Regions from separate parts of the Homo sapiens genome. Here regions 2, 3, 4, 5 and 6 are each linked to region 1. Evidence: promoter capture Hi-C in 16 types of primary human blood cells and fetal thymus (Javierre and others, 2016). All regions are on one chromosome and are shown on one strand. The core of a region is centred on a gene start or on the middle of the fragment in contact, and the rest is flanking DNA. Distances in the headings are between cores, read along the strand shown. Region 1 holds the start of OR10J1 (olfactory receptor family 10 subfamily J member 1). Region 2 has its middle 11 kb from the start of DUSP23. Region 3 has its middle 18 kb from the start of CRP. Region 4 has its middle 27 kb from the start of CRP. Region 5 holds the start of CRP (C-reactive protein). Region 6 holds the start of CFAP45 (cilia and flagella associated protein 45).

Region 1 (3,651 bases), core at 256-2,755:
TATTTCTCCTGGGCTATCTAATCCTGAGGCCACTTTCCCTCCCCACACAGTAACTTATTACTTGACATGTCATAAACATACTCCAATAGGGAATCCAGTTTCAGAAGCCCTGGTGCTCTAGTATAGGAAGAAAGGGATTATAGGAAAAAGATTTTAAGTGTGTCTTGGATTCTATTTTCTCAAGGGGCTTTCTATTGCCTTCATTAGGTGGAGATTCACAAAGAAACCAAAAGGTCAGTAAAAAATTCTCAGCCCATACTACTTTCTGGCCTTTTATTTAGGCATATCTTATCCTTGTTTGTCTATTTATCCCCAAAAATAGGGATAACACTCCATCCAGTAACTTTATTTAAAGCTTCAGACTCCCAGTTGTATGAAACTGCTATTCCTCTTTTGCCTCTTATTTAAGGGGCAGGTCTCTAGGAGCCAAGTGTTTGTGAGTTTACACCTCATATTCCTGCCTAGTGTGGATGTTGACAGCCTCAGGAGAACTCTTCCTACATGGTCAGGAAAACTTCCCACCAACAGCCCTGCACAGAGCATCTTTGACCTCTTTATTTCTCAGGGTGTATACCACAGGGTTCAGTAGGGGAGTGATGACAGTGTAGGTCACCGAGATCAGCTGGTCATGTTCTCTGGTGTTCTCTGACTTGGGCTTGAGGTAGGCAATGGAGGCACAGCTGTAGTGGACAATGACCACAGTGAGGTGGGATGCACAGGTGGCAAAAGCCTTCTTCCGGCCCTCAACTGAAGCAATCTTGAGGATTGTAGAGATAATGAGAACATAAGAAATGAAAACCAGACCCATAGGTACAACAAGCACCAGCACACTGATAATCAAAGTCAGGATTTCATTGACAGTGGTGTCAATGCAGGAGAGCTTCATCACAGGGCGGATGTCACAGAAGAAGTGGGGCACCTTTCTAGCACAGAAGGGTAACCTGAATACAGATGTCACTTGCGTTATTGCTACAATCAGCCCAATGCTGCAGGCCCCCAGGACAAGTTGGATACGCAGCCTCTTGTTCATAATAACCATGTATCTCAGGGGGTTGCAGATGGCCACATAGCGGTCATATCCCATTGCTGTGAGCAGGAAGCAGTTAGTGATGCCAAAGGTTACAAAAAAGAACATCTGTGTGGCACACCCTGCCAATGATATGGGCTGGCTCATACCTACGAGGCTGGAGAGCATTCTTGGGAGAATGACCAATGTATATACAGTCTCTGAAGTGGACAGCATGCTCAGGAAGAAGTACATGGGTGTGTGAAGATGAAGATCCATTCGGATGATGGTCACAATGATGATATTGCCTGCTAAGGTTAAGATGTATAGTGCAAGGAACACGCCAAAAAGGGTGATCTGCTGCTCATGGAAGCTAGAGAAACCTTGGAAAACAAAGTCAGTGATGAGAGTAAAGTTCTCTCTTTTCATGGATTGGTTCCCAAATCTGAAACATAAAAGCATAAAAGTCACATAGTCCCAGTAAAGCAGTAGAAGCACATTTCTGAAATTGATTGAAGTTCAATAGTTCTCAGTTACAAATCTGGTGATGTATTTCCTAGTGGATTAAGTTAATCCCTGGGTTTACTTATCTTTACTTAAAATATTTTTACTCTGTGACCATCTGTTATAATTTTCCATGCATCATAGAATCATATAGTCTCACTTTTTCACTGTATAACCATACATGCTCCTACTTCATATCTACTCTTCCTCCCTGACATCTGGAATGGCTTCTCTTTTCTCCTCTTATTTCTTTCCTACTCTTCAGAGATGAGTGCACATTTTCAGGCCTTCATAAAACCGTATTACACTCAGAGGTTCTCATGTTTATTTGGATTATTTTTACCCCATTATTGCTGCCTCACCTCATACAAACACTTAGCAACTTTATAATACCTTTTACATCTTTTCATATTTCACTAGCTCCAAATTATGCATGGATTGGGTGCTTGAAAATAATTTGTTTAGGGATGGACTAGTGATGTCTTTTCTTTCAAGACTATGAATCATCCTCCTTGCGCATCCTTTAAGAATTAGAAGCAAAGTAGAAAGGTTCATCTTGTCTTCAAGAAGAAAAAGGAAAATCTTAGCCAACCACCAGCCTCTCCCCACTTCTGTCTGAGTGATGGAAGTCTGCTGACAGTTCAGAGCACTGATTCACGTATGTTATAAACTATGCTACATCTTTACCTTCCCTAAACTAGAAGGCAAATTTATAGCCAATACAACTTTGTGAGTAAGCCTACACCCACTCTGCAGAGATAAACAATTGTATCAGGAAAGATACAGCAAATTTAAGTGTCCCTCACCTAAAGCAAAAGCAAACCCTGAATATAAAAAAACAGCTACACCAAAGATACATCATTTTGTTGAAGGAAGGGGATCAGTTCAATTTATGTAATATTTCACATTTTTATCTCTTTAAACAGTAAGCTTCTCTAGGGTATTTAAATTATATTCTGATTTGCTTATGCATATTCAGAAAGAGAAGTTTTGCATAAAGTAAATCACATCAATGATGAAGGTTAGTACGCACGGAGACTTTCTTCAAGTTCATAAAAATCTATTTAAAAGAAGTTGATGACCAGCTGTTAATCATTTACACTAAGAATGCTAAAAAGAAAGTAAAGCTGCAATAGAGAATATTTTCCAATAAAGAAAATCATTTGATACTAAAATATATGTCTAAAGACATTTGTCTTCTGTGAGGCTTCTGAGCAAAAACTATGTAGTAGTCCAGCCACGGAGTGGTATGGTGCCTCTATGGTGAAATCAGAAATGCTTGGCAGAGCTTTTAACTGTTACAATAATGAGCACAGAAGCTCTTGGCCATTCACGATGTGAAATGTCCTGCAAAACTTGTGGTGATTCTGCCCAAGGAAGAATTCCCTTCTTCCAAATACCAATAAAGTTCCCATTGAGAAACACACGGCTAAAATATCATCTTATCTGGCTGAAACTTGTCTGTCTTGAGGTAGAAGAATGGCTATTATGATTTGGTTAGCATCCTCCCCACTCTTGGAAGTCTATAATTCTTCAAAGGAAATGGAAGGAAGAGCAAATATAGCTTATGAAGACCTGTCCAGCTGTGATAGGACCTGAAATACTACAATAAATTAAAGTCAGCTCATATGTAATGAGCCCCATTTCAGTCCTTCTTCTAAAGACCACTCACATGACTCTGCTTAGCACTGAGGCACAACGGGAAAGCTGGGCTGGAGGAGGCCGAGGAGTAAAGATTGAAATGTCAGGCTCCCTTGGCCACAATGGATAGGCATAGGGTGACCAAGGTGAGCAAGGTGACCAAGAGTGCCTACGGCAGGACCTGAGGCTGAGCAGGCAGGGCATAAACACACACTAGTAGGAATATAGTCAGGTTTGAGAGTCATAGGCATTCTTGATAACCCCTCTGTGTGGAAAAGTCTTTGAAGCCAGAGGAGATGCTCTCCCAGGATCAGGCAGCTGGGCTTCTGGGGGTCACTCCCTGAAGACATTCTGACAGCCACCCCCCTGGGGCTGGGAGGATGCAGGTATCAGGTACCTGGAGGTCTCATTATGTATAGGGCTCATTTACTCAATTCCAGGCTAGCGCTTGGGGAGCCTGGGGAAAGTTTTTGCTTCAAGTTGAAATAACATTTGAGGAA
Region 2 (3,634 bases), core at 962-3,461, 330 kb before region 1:
CGATTAAATGAGTTAATACTATAAAGTGCTTTGAACAATGCTTGGCACAGTGAGGGATCAATAAACACTGGCTATTGTTATCATCAGCATCACAATAGGCTGCACATACTTATCAGGACCAATTGGTAGCAGGAGTTTCAAATAGAGAATGCATTACTGGCCCCATCTGGTCCCAAAAAATAGGTTCAGGAACCCCTCCTGTCCCCTACGTTGGGGTAGGAACATCATTTGCTAGAACTGGAAACTTAGGCAGAGGGGTAGTTGTATTACAAGCAAGCAAATAGACAAAACAGAACAGAACAAAATAAAAAAACCACCACATGCAAATTGAGTTCTCAGTGAATCCCCTTGTTACACTTTGATGGGATATTCTGCTTCATGGGAAAAAATAGTGCAAACATACCTGGATTCTTAGACTCAAAATTGGTAGCAAGGGAAGAATGTGTCCTTTAGTGCAGAGTTTTATGGTCTATCAATCCTTGAAAGGAAGATATCATTAATCATTAGTCAGTTTCAAAATGTGCTCATCATTATCCACTACTGTTGATGAAAAACCTCAACCTCTTCTGGAGAAAATGACTGTTAGGAAAAGAACCTTTGAGGCCATTAAAACACAGCCATGATTCTCTTTATTTTAGTGAAAAACTAAATATACCTATATCCTCAGATGGGAAAGACAAATCAAGTCTAGCGTCTAATCTTAGCAAAATTCAAATACTGGGTTTGAAATGCCAGTAATTCTATTTAATTCTTTTTCTCTTGTGCAAATACGGAGGAATCTACATTGTGTGATTATTCAGATGTTCAAACAGTTATTTAGGATGAGAAAATTTGCAAATTCACATGGAATTTATTTCTGGAATAGCTATGACCATAACAGAGACAAGGTTGATGAGTCAGTCATTTATTTGAAAATTATGATACCCTAAATCCCTTTGGTCAGAAAACATATTTGATTCACAAGAATATGGAAAAATGGTGAGAAAATGTTTTTTAATGGTTAGCTTTGCTCTATAGTCTTTTGGCTTTCCAAAACTATAATAGTTTCAGCCTTTCTGGTCCTTGTGTTTCTAAAACTTTCTACCTCTTTAATTCAATTAAACAAACATGCCAATTAAGTCCAAGTGAACAAAATATTGGGCTATATACTTGACTAAAGATGCAGATAAAAGCATGAAACTTACATTTTGGTTTTGGAGCAGATTGTTATAGCAATGACCTGAATGGATTACACCTCCTAGTATCCACACCCTTATACATGCCTCTCCTACATTTGTACTGGACTCAGCCTTGTACTTGCTTTGGCTAACGTGATATAAACAAATGTGGGCCAGACGCGGTGGCTCATGCCTGTAATTTCAGCACTTTGGGAGGCCAAGGCAGGTGGATCACTTGAGATCAGGAGTTTGAGACTAGCCTGACCAACATGGTGAAACCCCATCTCTACTAAAAATACAAAATTAGCCGGGCGTGATGGCACATGCCTGTAATCCCAGCTACTTGGGAGGCTGAGGCAGGAGAATTGCTTGAAACCGGGAGGCAGAGGTTGCAGTGAGCCAAGACTGTACCACTGCTCTCCAGCCTGGGCAACAAGAGTGAAACTCCATCTCAAAAAATAAAATAAAATAAAATAAAATAAAATAAAATAAAATAAAATAAAATAAAATGAAATAAAATAAAACAAATGTGATAGAAGCAGAGGTATGATAAGCACTTGCATGTTGGGTCTTGTCATCTTGGAACCCTAAGACCTTTATGCTATAAAGAAGCCCTGAATTATATACCGTATGGTAGGAGAGGCCAGTTGAGCCCAGTCCCCAAGCTGGATGCAGCTGCATGAATGATCCTAGGTATGACCAGTAGAAGAGTGACCCAGCTAACTCACAGAATCATGAGAAATAGAAATTGCTGTTAAGCCACTAAATTTTGGGGTCATTTACTTCATAGGAATGGAAAACTGATCTATATCTATATCTATATCTATCTCTCTCTATATATGTGTGTGTGTATATATATATATATATATGGTCATTTACTTCATAGGAATGGAAAACTGATTTTATATATATATATATATATATATATATATATATATATATATATATATATATATATATTTTTTTTTTTTTTTTTTTTTTTTGAGATGGAGTCTTGCTGTGGCCCAGGCTGAGATAGTGGCGCGATCCCAGCTCACTGCAACCTCCACTCTCCAGATTCAAGTGATTATCCGATTATCCTGCCTCAGCCTCCTGAGTAGCTGGGATTACAGGCGTCTGCCACCATGACTGGCTAATTTTTGTATTTTTATTAGAGACAGGGTTTTGTCATGTTGGCCAGGCTGGTCTCGAACTCCTGATCTCAGGTGATCCGCCTGCCTCGGCCTCCCAAAGTTCTGGGATTACAGTCGTGAGCCAACGTGCCCGGCCAGATATAAAAATTTATACCCAGAAATGGTATGTTGCTGTAACAAAAAGCTAAACTATGTGGCATTGGCTTTGGGGTTGAGTGGCTGGAAGAGGCAGTAGGTGCAGCGAGTAGATTATTAGTGGAGCCTGAGGACCTGAGAGGAAACTGCTACTGGAGGCTGATAAAGGGCAAATCACATTATATAGTAGTAGAATAACTGGCAACACTGTCATCTTCAGAAACTTGGAAGATAAAAAATGTACTTAATTAACTTGTAGATTTGGCTTAAGGAAGTTTCCATTTAGAATGCTGAAGGGGCCAATTAGCTTTTTAAAGGTGATAGATAATAGGGTATAGGAAGAGAGAGATGAACCAAAAAAAAAAAAAAATGAATTGCTCCATTTGCAAGCAGAATTTAAAGCAAATATGGAGTGCCCAGGATACGCTAGGTGAGAAATAAAACTGTCTCACATTTCCAGTCTCTCCTACTGCCAAAAGATTCTCAAAGTTAGAAATGTTCTCAGGGTACAAATTAAATCAAGGGTGTGGCTACAAGACTTTCTTAAGACCACAGAATGATTTAAAATAGTGACTATTAGATTCTCTCAGCTAGGCAAAGTGGCTTTTAAGAATTTTAAGGGCATTTTTTCCACGGCACATTGACATACTGAACCAAAGTAGAGGCCTATCTCAAAAATAGTTGTGGGTATAGCTTTTGTCTAGTCAAGTGGACTATCACCTGGCATATAGAAAGCCCACATAGAAAGGTATTGGATTAGTTTAGACTAACTAATGTACAGGAAGTTCAAAATAAATAGAAACAGGAGGTAAGATGAGAAAATCACTCAGCTGCACACACAGGCTATTTTTATTGAAAACATGGGTCATCTTGGAGAAAGCAGAGGCAACCACTTCCAGAGAGTAGAAGTAGGTAAACCAGGCTGTATTCAAGAACCGTTTTCTATACCTAGAGTAGAAGGTCCTGCAATATACTTATGTGAAGGGGTGGGTTGCCCCTCCACACCTGTGGGTGTTTCTCGTAAGGTGGAATGAGAGACTTGGAAAAGAAAAAGACACAGAGACAAAGTATAGAGAAAGAAATAAGGGGACCCGGGGAACCAGCGTTCAGCATATGGAGGATCTCGCCAGCCTCTGAGTTCCCTTAGTATTTATTGATCATTTGTGGGTGTTTCTCCGAGAGGGGGATGTGTCATGGTCACAAGACAAT
Region 3 (3,921 bases), core at 785-3,284, 260 kb before region 1:
TAAGTTGTTGACATGATGCCCCATCATCCCCAAATACTTTAGTGTGTAATTCAAGCAAACAAAGACCTTCTCCTACATGACCCCAATACAACCATCAAAATCAGGAAATTAACACTGATATATCACTGTTATCTAATTTACATATCCCATTCAACTTTCACCAATTATCCAATCATGTCCTTTATAGCAAAAAGATACAAACCAGGATTATACACTGCATTTAGTTGTCATGTTTCTTCAGTCACCTTTGATTTCTAGAGCATTTCCTCATCCTTTCCAGTCTTTCTTTAATTCTCAAAACTTTAACACCTGAAGGCTGTAGCCAGAATATTCCTTGGTTCAGGTTTGTCTGATGTCTTCTAATGATTAGATTCAGGTTATGAATTTTTGGCAGAAATATCACAGAATTGGGGCTGTTTTCTTCTCATTGCGTTCTATCAAGGGAGACACAAGTTTGACTTTTCTCATTACTTGATCATTAGATTAAAGTGATTTTATGTTTTTCTCCATTGAAACTTACTTCTTGTAATTAATAATTTTGTAGTAAGGTGATATTTTAAGACTAGGTAAATATATCATTTCCCATTATACTTTCACTCACTAGTTATAGCATCCATCTATGTTTTTTGAATAGATTAATTATTACTATGATAGTTTATCAAATGGTCACTTTACATTTCCATCATTCCTTCTACTTTTAAGTGAAAAGTGTTATTTTCTCCTCATTTATTCATTCATTTATTTTTATCGCTATGGATCCTAAATCATTTTTTGTCTCATTCTACTGTCTAGTACCTTCACTTAAAAGAAAATGGTAACTGTAGACATCCATTTCATGTTCCTAATGTGAAGAGGAATGCTTTCAATAAGTTGAGATTAAGTATGATACCTACTCTATGGTTTTTTAATTTTATATTTTATTTTATTTTATTTTTTTAGAGCACCCTTGCATTTTCTTATGGCAAAAGGGAAAGTTTAGGCTTGCAGTAGGCATTTCTAATGGTAGCAGCCTCAGGCCTGCTATGTTAGCTTTTTTCTGTGCAAACACATACTCCTTTAGAATTATCAACTACCTTGAAAGATCATCTGTACCTTGATGGTCATATGTACTTTATTCCAGCTTGTTCTCCTCTAGGCGAGTTTGGGAGTGGGAACGGAGTATATCTCAGTGTGGAAAGCTTCTAGTGTTGTAATAAGTTCTCAATTATTTTGTTTACTTCATTTCTGCCACTAGATAGCCGTGTCCTTTGGGACTCCCTACCCACCTAACACCTCTGTCCCAAGAATTTCAGTTTTCCAGAGAATGTCCTCCTCTGTTGCGACCGATTCTTATATGGGTGAGGCAAGAGAGGAAGGGAGGAGAAGAGGATGCTCAGTAATTGGCCAGACTCTGTGAACTTCTTCTTATAAGCATTTCACCCCAGCTAGAGTCTCCCTGATGTAACTCAGGCTGGTGCTGGTGCTGGGCTGGGATGCAGTTTTTCTCACCAACCCACTTTGATAGAATGAATAATAATCCTCTCAGGGCAATGTGGGAAAGACAATAAAAGACTCAGTTAGAAAGTGGTTTCCCAGTCCCTTCCCCAGTTGTAGGACCTGTTTTCCTTTTGCCCTAACCTTTTTTTCTATCACATTGGTGTTCTGTCACCTCTGTTCTTCCCAAGTATTTCCCCCTACTTTTTTTTGTATTGGGATCCCTTTCACTTTTGTGGTTTCTCTAGAGTTCAGCTCAAGGGAAGGAGACCTGAGCCCAGGCTAGCTTGTCATAGTCTACAGAACTGTCAATCTCTCAAGGAAAAACTTAATAGAAGGGTCACAAGAACCATATGAAGGAAAAGGGAGTGTTATTGAAGGACAAGACATGAATAAATTGGAGGGACATGACATCCTCCTGGATGAGAGACTTCATATTATAAAGTCTCAATCATTCCAAGAATGTCAATCATTCCTAAATTAATGCATACATTTACTATTATTTGAATAAAATTTCCAGCTTATATTAATCAAAGAAAATAAATCTGAAATTGATTTTGAAGAATAAATATGTAATAAATGCCAGGAAATTTTTGAAAAGAAAAATAATAGTAGGGATTTTTTTAATAGATACCAGAACTTAATATCTATAAAGCCACTAGAATCAAATCAATATGGCATTAAAACAGGAATTGACAATAAATCAGTGAAACAAATAAGAATTCAGAGACAGATTCAGGTACGTATGTAGTACAGTAATCCATTTCAATGGAGGAAAGAATGGCTCAGACAATAATTAGGGCTGGAACTATTGTCTATCCACTTGAAATAAAGTTACATCTTAATTTTTAACCATCTACAAAACTAAATATTTGATGGGTTAAATCTTTATATATAAAACAACAAAACACCAAAAGTATTAAAACATTTAGGAAAATATTTGTAAAATCTCAAAGTCATGGAGACTTTTCTAAGCAACACAATTACCCATAGCTACCTAAAAACCTTGCGATGGCAAAGTTAATATAAACAGAAACAAATACCAAATGACAAACTAGAAGAATATTACCTCTGCTCTCTTTCTCTCCGTGCGTGTGTGTGTACATGTGTGTATGTGTGTGTATCAGACAAAGGGCTAATATCTTTAATATACTTAAGGTGCTTACAAATAGATGGAAAAAAAGAAATGGCAAAGTGTAGATGTGAAAGGACAATCATCGCAAATAAAATGCAGATGCCCGGTAAACATTGATTTTACTTGTAATCTAAGAAAAGCAATTTAGAGACAACAATGGTATATTACTTTTTTGTTATTAGATTGGCAAAAAAAGGTTTTACTATCCAGTTATCACTAGTTTAATGGGGAAATAAGCCATTTCATGCATTTGTGCTGAGAGTGTAAATTTGTAGAAGCTTGTTGGAATTTAATTTGACAGTATGTATTAAAATTTTGAAAGGCTCATATTCTTTGGCCCACTAATTCTACTTAAAGAAATTTATCTTACAGCAATAAGATCAGAGTCCTTAAGGTGATACATAAAAAGATATTCATTACAGCATTCTAATAGCAAATATTTGGAAAACACATGTGTTCATCAACAGGGAAATCCTCGAATATGATTGAATAAATTGTGCTATCACTATACTATGGAATATTGTGCAGCTATTTAAAAATAATAGACTAGATCTATATGTACCATTCAAGAAAAATGCTCAGGGAAAAAAGCAAATTGCAGATTAGTATGTGCAGCATAATTCAGTTTTGCAACACAAGAGCATTTTTATTTGTACGGACATACAGTTGATAGATAGACAAGCAGATAGATAGATAAGAGGTAGATCTGTATAGAGACAAAATAAATTGGAAAGGATTGTGTTTGTGTTACAATAAATAGGCAGAGGGGGGAACTCTATTATTACTTTATTATAAACATTTTAAAGTGATTGAATTGTGTCAGTTAGTATTCAATGTAGAAAGGAGAAACTATTTTAAATATTTTAAGTGGGAAATAATTTCATATGGAGAATTAAGTGTTTTCATTTTTCACTTTTTGAGATAGAGTCTCACTCTGTCATCCAGGTTGGAGTGCAGTGTTGTGATCACAACTCATTGCAGCCTTGAACTCCTGGGCTCAAGAGATCCTCCTGCCTTGGCCTCCCAAAGCACTGGGATTACAGGCATGAACCACTGTGTCTAGCCCAAATTAATAGAAGAACTAAATTAAGTAGGCTCTTGGCTGGCCTCTGAAAATAAAATGACTCCTAGAAGAATTGAGAAGTGACACACCAATGTCTCCTTTGAAGCCACCACAGAAATTCCAATTTCATGAACATAATCCCATAGCTACCATCCAAGGCAGAGAGTTTGAATCATGAAACAGTAGCAGCTATTTCTCAAGATCTAGGGTCCTGGAGAATGGTCACTGGTACATGGCAACCAGGAAACCT
Region 4 (3,950 bases), core at 662-3,161, 300 kb before region 1:
AAAGCTTATATTCTAGCATAAGAAAAACACAATGAATAATAAACGTAATATAAAATTATATTATGTGGTCTGTAAAAGGGGATAAATGCTCTGGAGAAATAAAAACAAAACAACTAGAGCAGGATTTGGGAATGAAGAGTGTGAAAAGAAGACTGACTTTTTTTTTCCTTTTAAAATAAGGTGATCCCCAACAATAGACAAGCAGAGAGCCAAATCATGAGTGAACTACCATTCACAATTGCTACAAAGAGAATAAAATATCTAGGAATAAAACTTATAACAGATGTGAAGAACCTCTTCAAGGAGAACAACAAACCACTGCTCAAGGAAATAAGAGAGGACACAAACAAATGGAAAAACTTCCCATGCTCATGGATAGGAAGAATCAATATTGTGAAAATGGCCATACTGCCCAACGTAATTTATAGATTCGATGCTATTCCCATCAGGCTACCAGTGACTTTCTTCGCAGAATTAGAAAAAAACTACTTTAAATTTCATATGGAACCAAAAAAGAGCCCATATAGCCAAGACAGTCCTATGCAAAAAGAACAAAGCTGGAGGCATCATGCTACCTGACTTCAAATTATACTACAAGGCTACAGTAACCAAAACAGCATGGTACTGGCACCAAAACAGAGATATAGACCAAGGGAAAGAGAACAGAGACCTCAGAAATAACACCACACATCTACAACTATCTGATCTTTGACAAATCTGACAAAAACAAGCAATGGGTAAAGGATTCCCTATTTAATAAATAGTACTGGGAAAACTGGCTAGCCATATGCAGAAAACTGAAATTGGATCTCTTCCTTATACCTTTTACAAAAAATAATTCAAGATGGATTAAAGACTTAAATGTAAAGCTCAAAACCATAAAAATCCTAGAAGAAAACCTAGGTAATACCATTCAGGACATCGGGATGGGCAAAGACTTCATGACTAAAATACCGAAAGCAATTGCAACAAAAGCCAAAATTGACAAATGGGATCTAATCAAACTAAAGATCTTCTGCACAACAAAATAAACTATCATCAGAGTAAATAGGCAACCTACAGAATGGGAGAAAATTTTTGCAAGCTACCCATCTGACAAAGGTCTAATATCCAGAATCTACAAAGAACTTAAACAAATTTACAAGAAAAAAACAAACAACCCCATCAAAAAGTGGGCGAAGGATATGAACAGACACTTCTCAAAAGAAGTCATTTATGCCACCAACAAACATATGAATAAAAGCTCATCATTGCTGGTCATTAGAGAAATGCACATCAAAACCACAATGAGATACCATCTCATGCCAGTTAGAATGGCGATTATTAAAAAGTCAGGAAACAACAGATGCTGGAGAGGATGTGGAGAAATAGAAACACTTTTACACTATTGGTGGGACTGTAAATTAGTTCAACCATTGTGGAAGACAGTGTGGCGATTCCTCAATGATCTAGAACCAGAAATACCATTTGACCCAGCAACCCCATTACTGGGTATATACCTGAAGGATTATAAATCATTCTACTATAAAGACACATGCACATGTATGTTTACTGTAGCACTATTTACAATAGCAAAGGCTTGGAGCCAACCCAAATGCTCATCAATGATAGACTGGATAAAGAAAATGTAACTGATATACACCATGGAATACTATACAGTCATAAAAAAGAATGAGTTCATGTCCTTTGCAGGGACATGGATGAAGCTGGAAGTCATCATTCTCATCAAACTAACACAGGAACAGAAAACCAAACACTGCATGTTCTCATTCAGAACAATGAGAACACATGGACACAGCAAGGGGAATATCACACACTGGGGCCTGTCGGGGGGTGGGGGGCAAGGGGAGGGAGAGCATTAGGACAAATACCTAATGCGTGTGGGGCTTAAAACCTAGATGATGGGTTGACAGGTGCAGCAAACCACCATGGCACATGTATACCTATGTAACAAACCTGCAGGTTCTGCACAAGTATCCCAGAACTTAAAGTAAAATTAAAAAAAGTAAGGTGGTCCTTGTAGGCCCCACTGAAACAATGACATTTGGGTAAAACTTGATGGAGATGAGGGAGTTGACCAGGTAGATTTCTTGGGGAAGAACATTCCAGGCAGGGGGAATAGCTAGTGCAAAGGCCTTAAGGTGGGAGTGTGCCTGATGGGTTTGAGGAAAAGCAAGAAAATCTGTGTCACTAGAGCAGATTACGGGGAAAATCCAGAGAAATGGGGCACAAGATGACAATAGAGGAAAGTCATGGAGGGAATTGAAGGCCACTGTAGAAGACTTTGGCTGAGTGACATGGAAGTCATTGAAGGTAATTATTTTTTCCCCTAAGAATAATACAAAGAACTTTCTGTTTTATGAAGCATTTAAGGATAAGTTGCCAATGTGATACCCTATTACCTGTGCTAAGGTTTGAATGTATGTGTCCCCCCCAAATTCATATGTTGGCATCTAAGCTGCCATGTGATAGTATTAAGGGGTTGGGCTTTTAGGAGGTGATTAAGTCATAAGGGCTCCATCCTCAGGAATGAGATTACTGACCTTATAAAAGGGGTCAAGAGAATTATCTAGGCCTGTTCCCTCTTCCATTTCTGCTGCCATGTGAGGACACCGTGTTTGGGGCACCATCTTGGAGGTAGAGACTGGGCCCTCACCAGATACTAAACCTTCTGCCACCTTGATCTTGTACTTCCTTCCCAGCCTCTAGAGCTGAGATAAATACATTTCTATTATTTATAAATTACCTAGTTTGTGGTATTTCCATTCCAACAGGAATGGATACCCAGACTGCTCATGGCACTGCGTGTCTAAGACACCGTTAAACACTTTAATGTATAATTTCTACAAGCAAGGATATTTTCCTTTACAAGTACATAACAACAATCAAAATAAAAAAATCAGCACCAATATATTAGTACCATCTTATCCCCAGACCCTCTGCAAATTCACTAATTCTTCCAAATATGTCCTTTTTAAAGCAAAAGTACCCAATATAGATCACACATTGCATTTAGTTATCATGTCTCTTTAGACCCCTTTATTCTGAAAGAGTTCTTCAAATTGTCTTAATGTTCATGACATTGGCACTTCTGCAGATTACAGGCCAATTGCTTTGGAGAATGTTCCTCTTTTGGAGTTTGTTGGGTGCTCCCTTGTGATTAGAATCAGGTCAGTTATTTTTTGGCAGTAATATCACAGAATAGTTGCATTTTTCTCCTCATTACATCTAGTCAGTGGTACACAATTTGAATCTGTCCCATTATTATAAATGAATGCATGTCTGGATGCTTGCTGCTTGCAGAATCCAATTAACAAGAGTGAGGTCTGGAAGAAGGAAAGTGGTTTTATTAACCAAAACTAGTACTGGGGAGGTGGCCAGATTCCCAACCAAAGCAACCACTTTGAACTACTGGGGAGAAGGCAAGGTTTCAAAAAGAAGGGACTTAACAGGGGAGACATGCAGGAGTTGTGCTGAGCTCAGGTCTGTGTGTCTTGTTTCGATGGCTATGTTGGATTTCAGTCCACCTGGAGCGTGAGCTGGCATCATCTCAACAATGGCCATGTTGTTGACTAGTTGCCTTGAGTTAATCGCTGGAATTCTGCAGCTGGATTTCCAGGCTTTGTCTGTCTCAAGATTAGCCCCTGGAACTTCTAAGTAAGCATATAATTAGATACAAGCATACAGTTAGATAAATGTGCATGGTGTAAGAGTGTATGGTGAGAAAGGGAGCAACCTGGTGTTTTAAAGAAAGTACAGTTCAAAGCTGTGTGTTAAGACTAAGGAGAAGAAAAACAAGGTTTCTGCTGAAAGCTTCAAGGTTGCATCTTGCAACCTTGAAAAAAGACTAAGGAGAAGAAAAACAAGGTTTCTGCTGTAAGCTTCAAGGTTGCATCTTGCAACCTTGAAAAAAAAAGTTTTTAAAATGCATTTTGAAGTTAAGCTGCCTG
Region 5 (3,703 bases), core at 61-2,560, 270 kb before region 1:
TCTCGTTGGCCTTAATTTAATCACATCATCACTGCAAGCTACAGTGGGGGCTGGGAAATTTGGTGTTTGAGGGGATGACCAAGCGCCCAACTGAAAATGTTATTCTTCTCTTATGAGAAGTAGAGAATGGATGTTAGGGAATGGCTAGAAGACTCTACTACAAAGGATACGGTGGTTCTTTTCTGATTGCTTCTAACTTCTCAATGAAAGGTGAGTTCATCAGCTGAATGAAAGAATAAATGAGATTTTGGGGACTTGAGGAGCAAGGAGAAGGAGTATAATAGTCATTTTGAAGAGTGAGTTAAGTAGGGAACTGTAGTAAGATTGACAGACAGTGTGGAGGGATTACTTGAATCTTGTGAATAGAGGAAAGAGTAGAATCAGATTATCCTGACTCCTGCCTGAAGCTTTACATATTCAGAGAAAAATGTTGGAAGAAACTTTGATATAATGCTATGTCTGTGATCAGGCACACATTTTACTGGACTTTTACTGTCAGGGCCGTCATTTAGTGCCAAGATGTCTAGAGAGTTCTTAATAAGTGTACTCAATTGGCTGAGAAAATGTGTCCATGCAAAAAACCAAACACCGCGTGTTCTCACTCATAGATGGGAATTGAACAATGAGAATACTTGGACACAGGAAGGGGAACATCACACTCTGGGGACTGTTGTGGGGTGGGGGGAGGGGGGAGGGATAGCATTAGAAGATATACCTAATGCTAAATGATGAGTTAATGGGTGCAGCACACCAGCATGGCACATGTATACATATGTAACTAACCTGCACATTGTGCACATGTACCCTAAAACTTAAAGTATAATAATAATAAAAAAATGTGTCCATGGCTCTGGGAGGAGCATGTTTGTTTTCCTCATTTCCCAGTCTGTAAATAAGCAAATTGAAAGGGGTTAGTGATAATGTCCATCTCCAGAAGCTGTCAGATTTCCTTTGTCAAACTCTATGATTTGGGCTGAAGTAGGTGTTGGAGAGGCAGCTACCACGTGCACCCAGATGGCCACTCGTTTAATATGTTACCATTTCCCATTATTTTCGCAGGATAGATAGCCAAAGTGGAGCCCTGAGAGATTTCTTCATTTTTCCTGTCATAAAGAATTGGTAATTCAGTAGTCATAGGAGTTTGTAATAAATAACTCACATTGATTTCTCTGTTCTGAAATAATTTTGCTTCCCCTCTTCCCGAAGCTCTGACACCTGCCCCAACAAGCAATGTTGGAAAATTATTTACATAGTGGCGCAAACTCCCTTACTGCTTTGGATATAAATCCAGGCAGGAGGAGGTAGCTCTAAGGCAAGAGATCTAGGACTTCTAGCCCCTGAACTTTCAGCCGAATACATCTTTTCCAAAGGAGTGAATTCAGGCCCTTGTATCACTGGCAGCAGGACGTGACCATGGAGAAGCTGTTGTGTTTCTTGGTCTTGACCAGCCTCTCTCATGCTTTTGGCCAGACAGGTAAGGGCCACCCCAGGCTATGGGAGAGATTTGATCTGAGGTATGGGGGTGGGGTCTAAGACTGCATGAACAGTCTCAAAAAAAAAAAAAAAAGACTGTATGAACAGAACAGTGGAGCATCCTTCATGGTGTGTGTGTGTGTGTGTGTGTGTGTGTGTGTGTGTGTGGTGTGTAACTGGAGAAGGGGTCAGTCTGTTTCTCAATCTTAAATTCTATACGTAAGTGAGGGGATAGATCTGTGTGATCTGAGAAACCTCTCACATTTGCTTGTTTTTCTGGCTCACAGACATGTCGAGGAAGGCTTTTGTGTTTCCCAAAGAGTCGGATACTTCCTATGTATCCCTCAAAGCACCGTTAACGAAGCCTCTCAAAGCCTTCACTGTGTGCCTCCACTTCTACACGGAACTGTCCTCGACCCGTGGGTACAGTATTTTCTCGTATGCCACCAAGAGACAAGACAATGAGATTCTCATATTTTGGTCTAAGGATATAGGATACAGTTTTACAGTGGGTGGGTCTGAAATATTATTCGAGGTTCCTGAAGTCACAGTAGCTCCAGTACACATTTGTACAAGCTGGGAGTCCGCCTCAGGGATCGTGGAGTTCTGGGTAGATGGGAAGCCCAGGGTGAGGAAGAGTCTGAAGAAGGGATACACTGTGGGGGCAGAAGCAAGCATCATCTTGGGGCAGGAGCAGGATTCCTTCGGTGGGAACTTTGAAGGAAGCCAGTCCCTGGTGGGAGACATTGGAAATGTGAACATGTGGGACTTTGTGCTGTCACCAGATGAGATTAACACCATCTATCTTGGCGGGCCCTTCAGTCCTAATGTCCTGAACTGGCGGGCACTGAAGTATGAAGTGCAAGGCGAAGTGTTCACCAAACCCCAGCTGTGGCCCTGAGGCCCAGCTGTGGGTCCTGAAGGTACCTCCCGGTTTTTTACACCGCATGGGCCCCACGTCTCTGTCTCTGGTACCTCCCGCTTTTTTACACTGCATGGTTCCCACGTCTCTGTCTCTGGGCCTTTGTTCCCCTATATGCATTGCAGGCCTGCTCCACCCTCCTCAGCGCCTGAGAATGGAGGTAAAGTGTCTGGTCTGGGAGCTCGTTAACTATGCTGGGAAACGGTCCAAAAGAATCAGAATTTGAGGTGTTTTGTTTTCATTTTTATTTCAAGTTGGACAGATCTTGGAGATAATTTCTTACCTCACATAGATGAGAAAACTAACACCCAGAAAGGAGAAATGATGTTATAAAAAACTCATAAGGCAAGAGCTGAGAAGGAAGCGCTGATCTTCTATTTAATTCCCCACCCATGACCCCCAGAAAGCAGGAGGGCATTGCCCACATTCACAGGGCTCTTCAGTCTCAGAATCAGGACACTGGCCAGGTGTCTGGTTTGGGTCCAGAGTGCTCATCATCATGTCATAGAACTGCTGGGCCCAGGTCTCCTGAAATGGGAAGCCCAGCAATACCACGCAGTCCCTCCACTTTCTCAAAGCACACTGGAAAGGCCATTAGAATTGCCCCAGCAGAGCAGATCTGCTTTTTTTCCAGAGCAAAATGAAGCACTAGGTATAAATATGTTGTTACTGCCAAGAACTTAAATGACTGGTTTTTGTTTGCTTGCAGTGCTTTCTTAATTTTATGGCTCTTCTGGGAAACTCCTCCCCTTTTCCACACGAACCTTGTGGGGCTGTGAATTCTTTCTTCATCCCCGCATTCCCAATATACCCAGGCCACAAGAGTGGACGTGAACCACAGGGTGTCCTGTCAGAGGAGCCCATCTCCCATCTCCCCAGCTCCCTATCTGGAGGATAGTTGGATAGTTACGTGTTCCTAGCAGGACCAACTACAGTCTTCCCAAGGATTGAGTTATGGACTTTGGGAGTGAGACATCTTCTTGCTGCTGGATTTCCAAGCTGAGAGGACGTGAACCTGGGACCACCAGTAGCCATCTTGTTTGCCACATGGAGAGAGACTGTGAGGACAGAAGCCAAACTGGAAGTGGAGGAGCCAAGGGATTGACAAACAACAGAGCCTTGACCACGTGGAGTCTCTGAATCAGCCTTGTCTGGAACCAGATCTACACCTGGACTGCCCAGGTCTATAAGCCAATAAAGCCCCTGTTTACTTGAGTGAGTCCAAGCTGTTTTCTGATAGTTGCTTTAGAAGTTGTGACTAACTTCTCTAATGACCTTTGAAATCAAGTCCCTGTAAGTTTACACTTC
Region 6 (3,483 bases), core at 221-2,720, 460 kb before region 1:
TTTCTGCCTCAACTTTGCACCTTTTCTTCAGAGAGTTACCCTGGGCTGAGAAAAGAATAGATTTTCAATTTGGACAGTTTTTTCTTGGCTTGTTTCCTCTTTGGTTACACGGATAGTAACTATGTCATGCAGATGTGCCTGGGAGAATGGGGTGAATACAGGAAGCACCTTATTCACAGTGGGCCGGTTACTTGTCTTCCCTTCTTTCTGAGCTGCAGGGAACGGGGTTCTAATGCCAAGGCTTAGTAAGGAAGGTTCCCACGAACAAAACAGCCCCTTCTCTCAGTCCCAAGCCTCCCAGGGACTGTGCTCCTCCTCTTCAGGCCTTCCCTTCTCCCTCTGATTAAGCCTTCAACACTTGGTGGGACTGGGCAGGGGACACAATTTTGTACTCTTGATCCCAAAGGAGATAAAGGCTGGGAAATCTAGGGAAGGAATGTGAAGCCTGTTGGAGTAAGTCCTTTTAAAAGCAGCAAGAAGTGACCTTGTCTCCCTCTTTCCATTCCCCCGGGGCTTGTGAATAGCCTTCAGTGCCCAAGTTGGAGTAAGAGCTTCAGAAAGACTGGCTGTGAGGGTTTGGAGAGAGGTTTGAGAAAGCAGCTCAGAGACTCACAGAGTCACACCAAGAGCTTAGCTAATCAGCTAATCAGCACTGGAGGAAGACAAATGTCCTTGGTCTGGTGGGACAGCTTCGTGAGGCTTGGAGCATGCAGCCTACCAAAGTGAGCTCAGTGCCAGCCCTGCAAGTTGGGAGGTAGAGAGGCCAAACCAAATTGGAAAAAATGACAAAACCCCTATGTACTTTCTAGAACAATACATACCAGCTAGGAAGTGTTAAAAGACAAGCTCCCCAAAGTCAGTTCCTTAGCTTTTGACTTATTCTAATGTAGGGCCTCCATTTTTAATAAACTCTCCCAGGTGATTCTTAGCTGCAGATTTGAGGCCCGCAATTTAAGAAACTGCTCTTGAGACTGCATAGACATCCTCAGGGCTGGAAGTTCTTTGTTGACCCGACCAGATTCTCTCCTGCTGTGGAACTGGTTTGTCCTGATCCTGCTGGCTTCTCTGCAGACTACACTCATCAGGGGTTGGCTTGGCGCCTCCTGGGCAATGGGGCAAGAGTAATCATAGCAACCTAGGTGAAGTCCCAGGGGAAAACTGTGACCCTGGGCCAGGCTCCTGGGGCCGCTGACAGTTAGAACCCCCTCGGCCCATAGTAAGTTCTTTAGGTTCGGGTTCTGACCGAAAAGTTTGGCCAAAGCCAAAGTGGAGAGCAGGGCACGCCAGGGCGGGTCAATCCTTCAGAGCCGCGGTTGGGCTGGAGCGTGGAGCTGCAACGGTTGGAGCGACGGGCTCCGGTTCCTAAGCCACCAGCACAAGGCAACTGCCCGCTGGAGGTGGGAGGGGCGGGGCCGGGGGCGGGGCCTGAGCCGAAGAACGCGGGCTAGTGGTTGCCAAGGTAACGCGTCAACACTAGGGCCTTGGCGGCGCCGAGGCGGCAGCAGAAGTCCGGAGTCAGGGCGTGTGGCTGAGGAGATGGTGAGGGAGAACCTCAGATGGGCCCCTTGTGTCCTGAATTGGGTGGGGGCTCTGAGTGGGGAAAGTGGGGGCCTAGGGGAGGTCACAGTTGGGTCTAGGGGTCAGGAGGGCCCAGGAGTAAGGAGAACACCTCTAGAAGAAGCAAGGGAGATCCTGAGGTGGGTTCAAAAGAGGAATTAGGGATAGCATCGATAACGATTGGAAATGTGGAGCGCGCTGAGCGGAGGAGTTGGGGAGAAAGGGATGCCCCAACCCTCTCCCCGTTGCCATTACAGCGGGGCCTCTGTGGACCAAAGATTGTGGATGTGGTGTGGGAAAAAGCACTGGTGGGCCGGGCGCGGTGGCTTACGCCTGTAATCCCAGCACTTTGGGAGGCAGAGGCGGGCGGATCATGAGGTCAGGAGATCGAGACCATCCTGGCTAACACAGTGAAACCCCGCCTCTACTAAAAATACAAAAAATTAGCCGGGCGTGGTGGCGGGCGCCTGTAGTCCCAGCTACTCGGGAGGCTGAGGCAGGAGAATGGCGTGAACCCGGGAGGCGGAGCTTGCAGTGAGCCGAGATCGCGCCACTGCACTCCAGCCTGGGCGACACAGCGAGACTCCGTCTCAAAAAAAAAAAAAAAAAAAAAAAGCACTGGTGAGGAGGCCAGATAATGGGTCGTGGTACCTGTTTTGCCACTAACTAGCAAGGTGACTGTGGGTAAGTCATCTAATGTGCCCGAGCCTCAGGTTTTTCTTCTGTTAGCAGGGCTTTGTATCCCTCAGTAGTTAGTCAATAAATATTTGGCAGTGAATGAATGAATGAATAAATGAGTGAGTGAGTGAGGAGGGTCTCAGGTTTGCAAGGCCCGGGAGAGAGATTGGGACAGGACTGGCAGCCTGGGGTTTGCTGGGATGGGGAGGGCTGTCAGGGTACTGAGGGCTGAGAAGGCCAGCAAAGCCTGGGAGGAACCATGAAGGGGATGCCTGGGCTTGAGTGTGTTGGTCCCAGAGGGGAGGGGAAGGGCAGATGATAAGTGTTGGAGTCTTGGGTTATTGGAACTGACCTAGAATGTCTGGGGCACAACAGGTGGCAAAGGTTGCTACTTGGATGTACTTGTGGACAGACTTCAGGCCCAGGGGCTGCATTGCTTTTCTGGGGCTCAGTGGACCTCAGAAGAATTTTGTTAATTATTAAATAAGTCTCCAACAAAGAGCAGTTCCTGACTTTCGAGGACTCCCTGCAGTGTTGTAATTGGGGTGGGGGAGCGTCCCCTTTCACTTATGTATTCTATTTGATTCAGTGTCCCATCTTCTCTCAGCACCTTACAAACACAGTGGCGTATGTATGTATGTGAACACCTACTGTCATGCCTGGTGTCTAAGGGCATATGGTAAATGTTAGTTCCCCTTTTGTCCTCTTTTAAAAATTTCCTATTTCCAAGCTCTCATAGGGCATAAGTTGCACCTGGGCAAGACCTGTGGGCTTCAGAGCACCCAGATCAGGGATTCCCCATCCAGGAGCCACTCAGGGCAGGGGTTTGACTCACTCACTGAGCCCCTCTGTAATTCCTGGGACAGGACTGGGCATATAGACACCTTTGAGAAGCAGTGGGTCTAAGTTAGTGATCTCTGGCAGGCCAGCTGTGTGTGTTCGTGTACGTATAGTGCTACTCACTAGGTTTGGAGAATATTTAAAGGCATGAGAAGAGATAGTAGTGGTGGTGAGGGTCACAATTAGGCAGACTTCCAGAACTCTTACAAAAATAATGATTAAAATCCTGCAGAAGGAGAGATGGGGACCTCAGTACTGACTAGGATGTTATCTTCTGGTGGCATCCTACAGATGGCCAACTTGGTCCCAATTGAAGAAAGAGGATAATTGCGTGGATCACTCAGAGTAAAAGGCAAGGGGTCTCGTGCATGGGAATCTCCCTTTCTTGGTAACCAAAGTCTACAGAAA

What was found. The method cuts DNA at HindIII sites, captures the fragments that hold promoters and counts their contacts. A CHiCAGO score of 5 or more calls a contact.
Region 2: a contact is called between a fragment that was not itself captured here and the fragment with the promoter of OR10J1 in region 1, in 4 of 17 cell types (M2 macrophages, M1 macrophages, endothelial precursors and 1 more). The highest score is 11.0, in M2 macrophages.
Region 3: a fragment that was not itself captured here is called in contact with the fragment with the promoter of OR10J1 in region 1 in 1 of 17 cell types (M2 macrophages); the score reaches 6.0 in M2 macrophages.
Region 4: a contact is called between a fragment that was not itself captured here and the fragment with the promoter of OR10J1 in region 1, in 4 of 17 cell types (endothelial precursors, M2 macrophages, neutrophils and 1 more). The highest score is 6.3, in endothelial precursors.
Region 5: a contact is called between the fragment with the promoter of CRP here and the fragment with the promoter of OR10J1 in region 1, in 5 of 17 cell types (M2 macrophages, endothelial precursors, M1 macrophages and 2 more). The highest score is 6.5, in M2 macrophages.
Region 6: a contact is called between the fragment with the promoter of CFAP45 here and the fragment with the promoter of OR10J1 in region 1, in 2 of 17 cell types (M1 macrophages and M0 macrophages). The highest score is 5.5, in M1 macrophages.

The regions. Positions count from the first base shown.
Region 1 is chr1:159,437,576-159,441,226 of GRCh38, reverse strand. OR10J1 (olfactory receptor family 10 subfamily J member 1) reads right to left here and starts at 1,505. Exons shown (of 1, transcript NM_012351.3): 1 at 260-1,505. The coding sequence starts at 1,435. The coding sequence ends at 506. The HindIII fragment of the contact is 2,085 bases long and covers 358-2,442 here.
Region 2 is chr1:159,768,534-159,772,167 of GRCh38, reverse strand. No RefSeq gene overlaps it. Among named protein-coding and RNA genes, the nearest start is that of DUSP23, 11 kb to the left of the region's middle. RefSeq lists enhancers at 2,632-3,585, 3,586-3,634. The HindIII fragment of the contact is 5,272 bases long and covers 1-3,634 here.
Region 3 is chr1:159,694,776-159,698,696 of GRCh38, reverse strand. No RefSeq gene overlaps it. Among named protein-coding and RNA genes, the nearest start is that of CRP, 18 kb to the left of the region's middle. The HindIII fragment of the contact is 1,708 bases long and covers 1,181-2,888 here.
Region 4 is chr1:159,739,465-159,743,414 of GRCh38, reverse strand. No RefSeq gene overlaps it. Among named protein-coding and RNA genes, the nearest start is that of CRP, 27 kb to the right of the region's middle. The HindIII fragment of the contact is 3,809 bases long and covers 7-3,815 here.
Region 5 is chr1:159,712,196-159,715,898 of GRCh38, reverse strand. CRP (C-reactive protein) reads left to right here and starts at 1,310. Exons shown (of 2, transcript NM_000567.3): 1 at 1,310-1,474; 2 at 1,761-3,610. The coding sequence starts at 1,414. The coding sequence ends at 2,374. The HindIII fragment of the contact is 4,063 bases long and covers 410-3,703 here.
Region 6 is chr1:159,898,152-159,901,634 of GRCh38, reverse strand. It overlaps CFAP45 (cilia and flagella associated protein 45), which reads left to right and starts at 1,470. Exons shown (of 12, transcript NM_012337.3): 1 at 1,470-1,539. The coding sequence starts at 1,537. MIR4259 (microRNA 4259) reads left to right here and starts at 1,556; the gene lies at 1,556-1,656. It overlaps LOC124904435 (a long non-coding RNA gene), which reads right to left and starts at 1,385. Exons shown (of 3, transcript XR_007066679.1): 1 at 822-1,385. The HindIII fragment of the contact is 6,665 bases long and covers 1-3,483 here.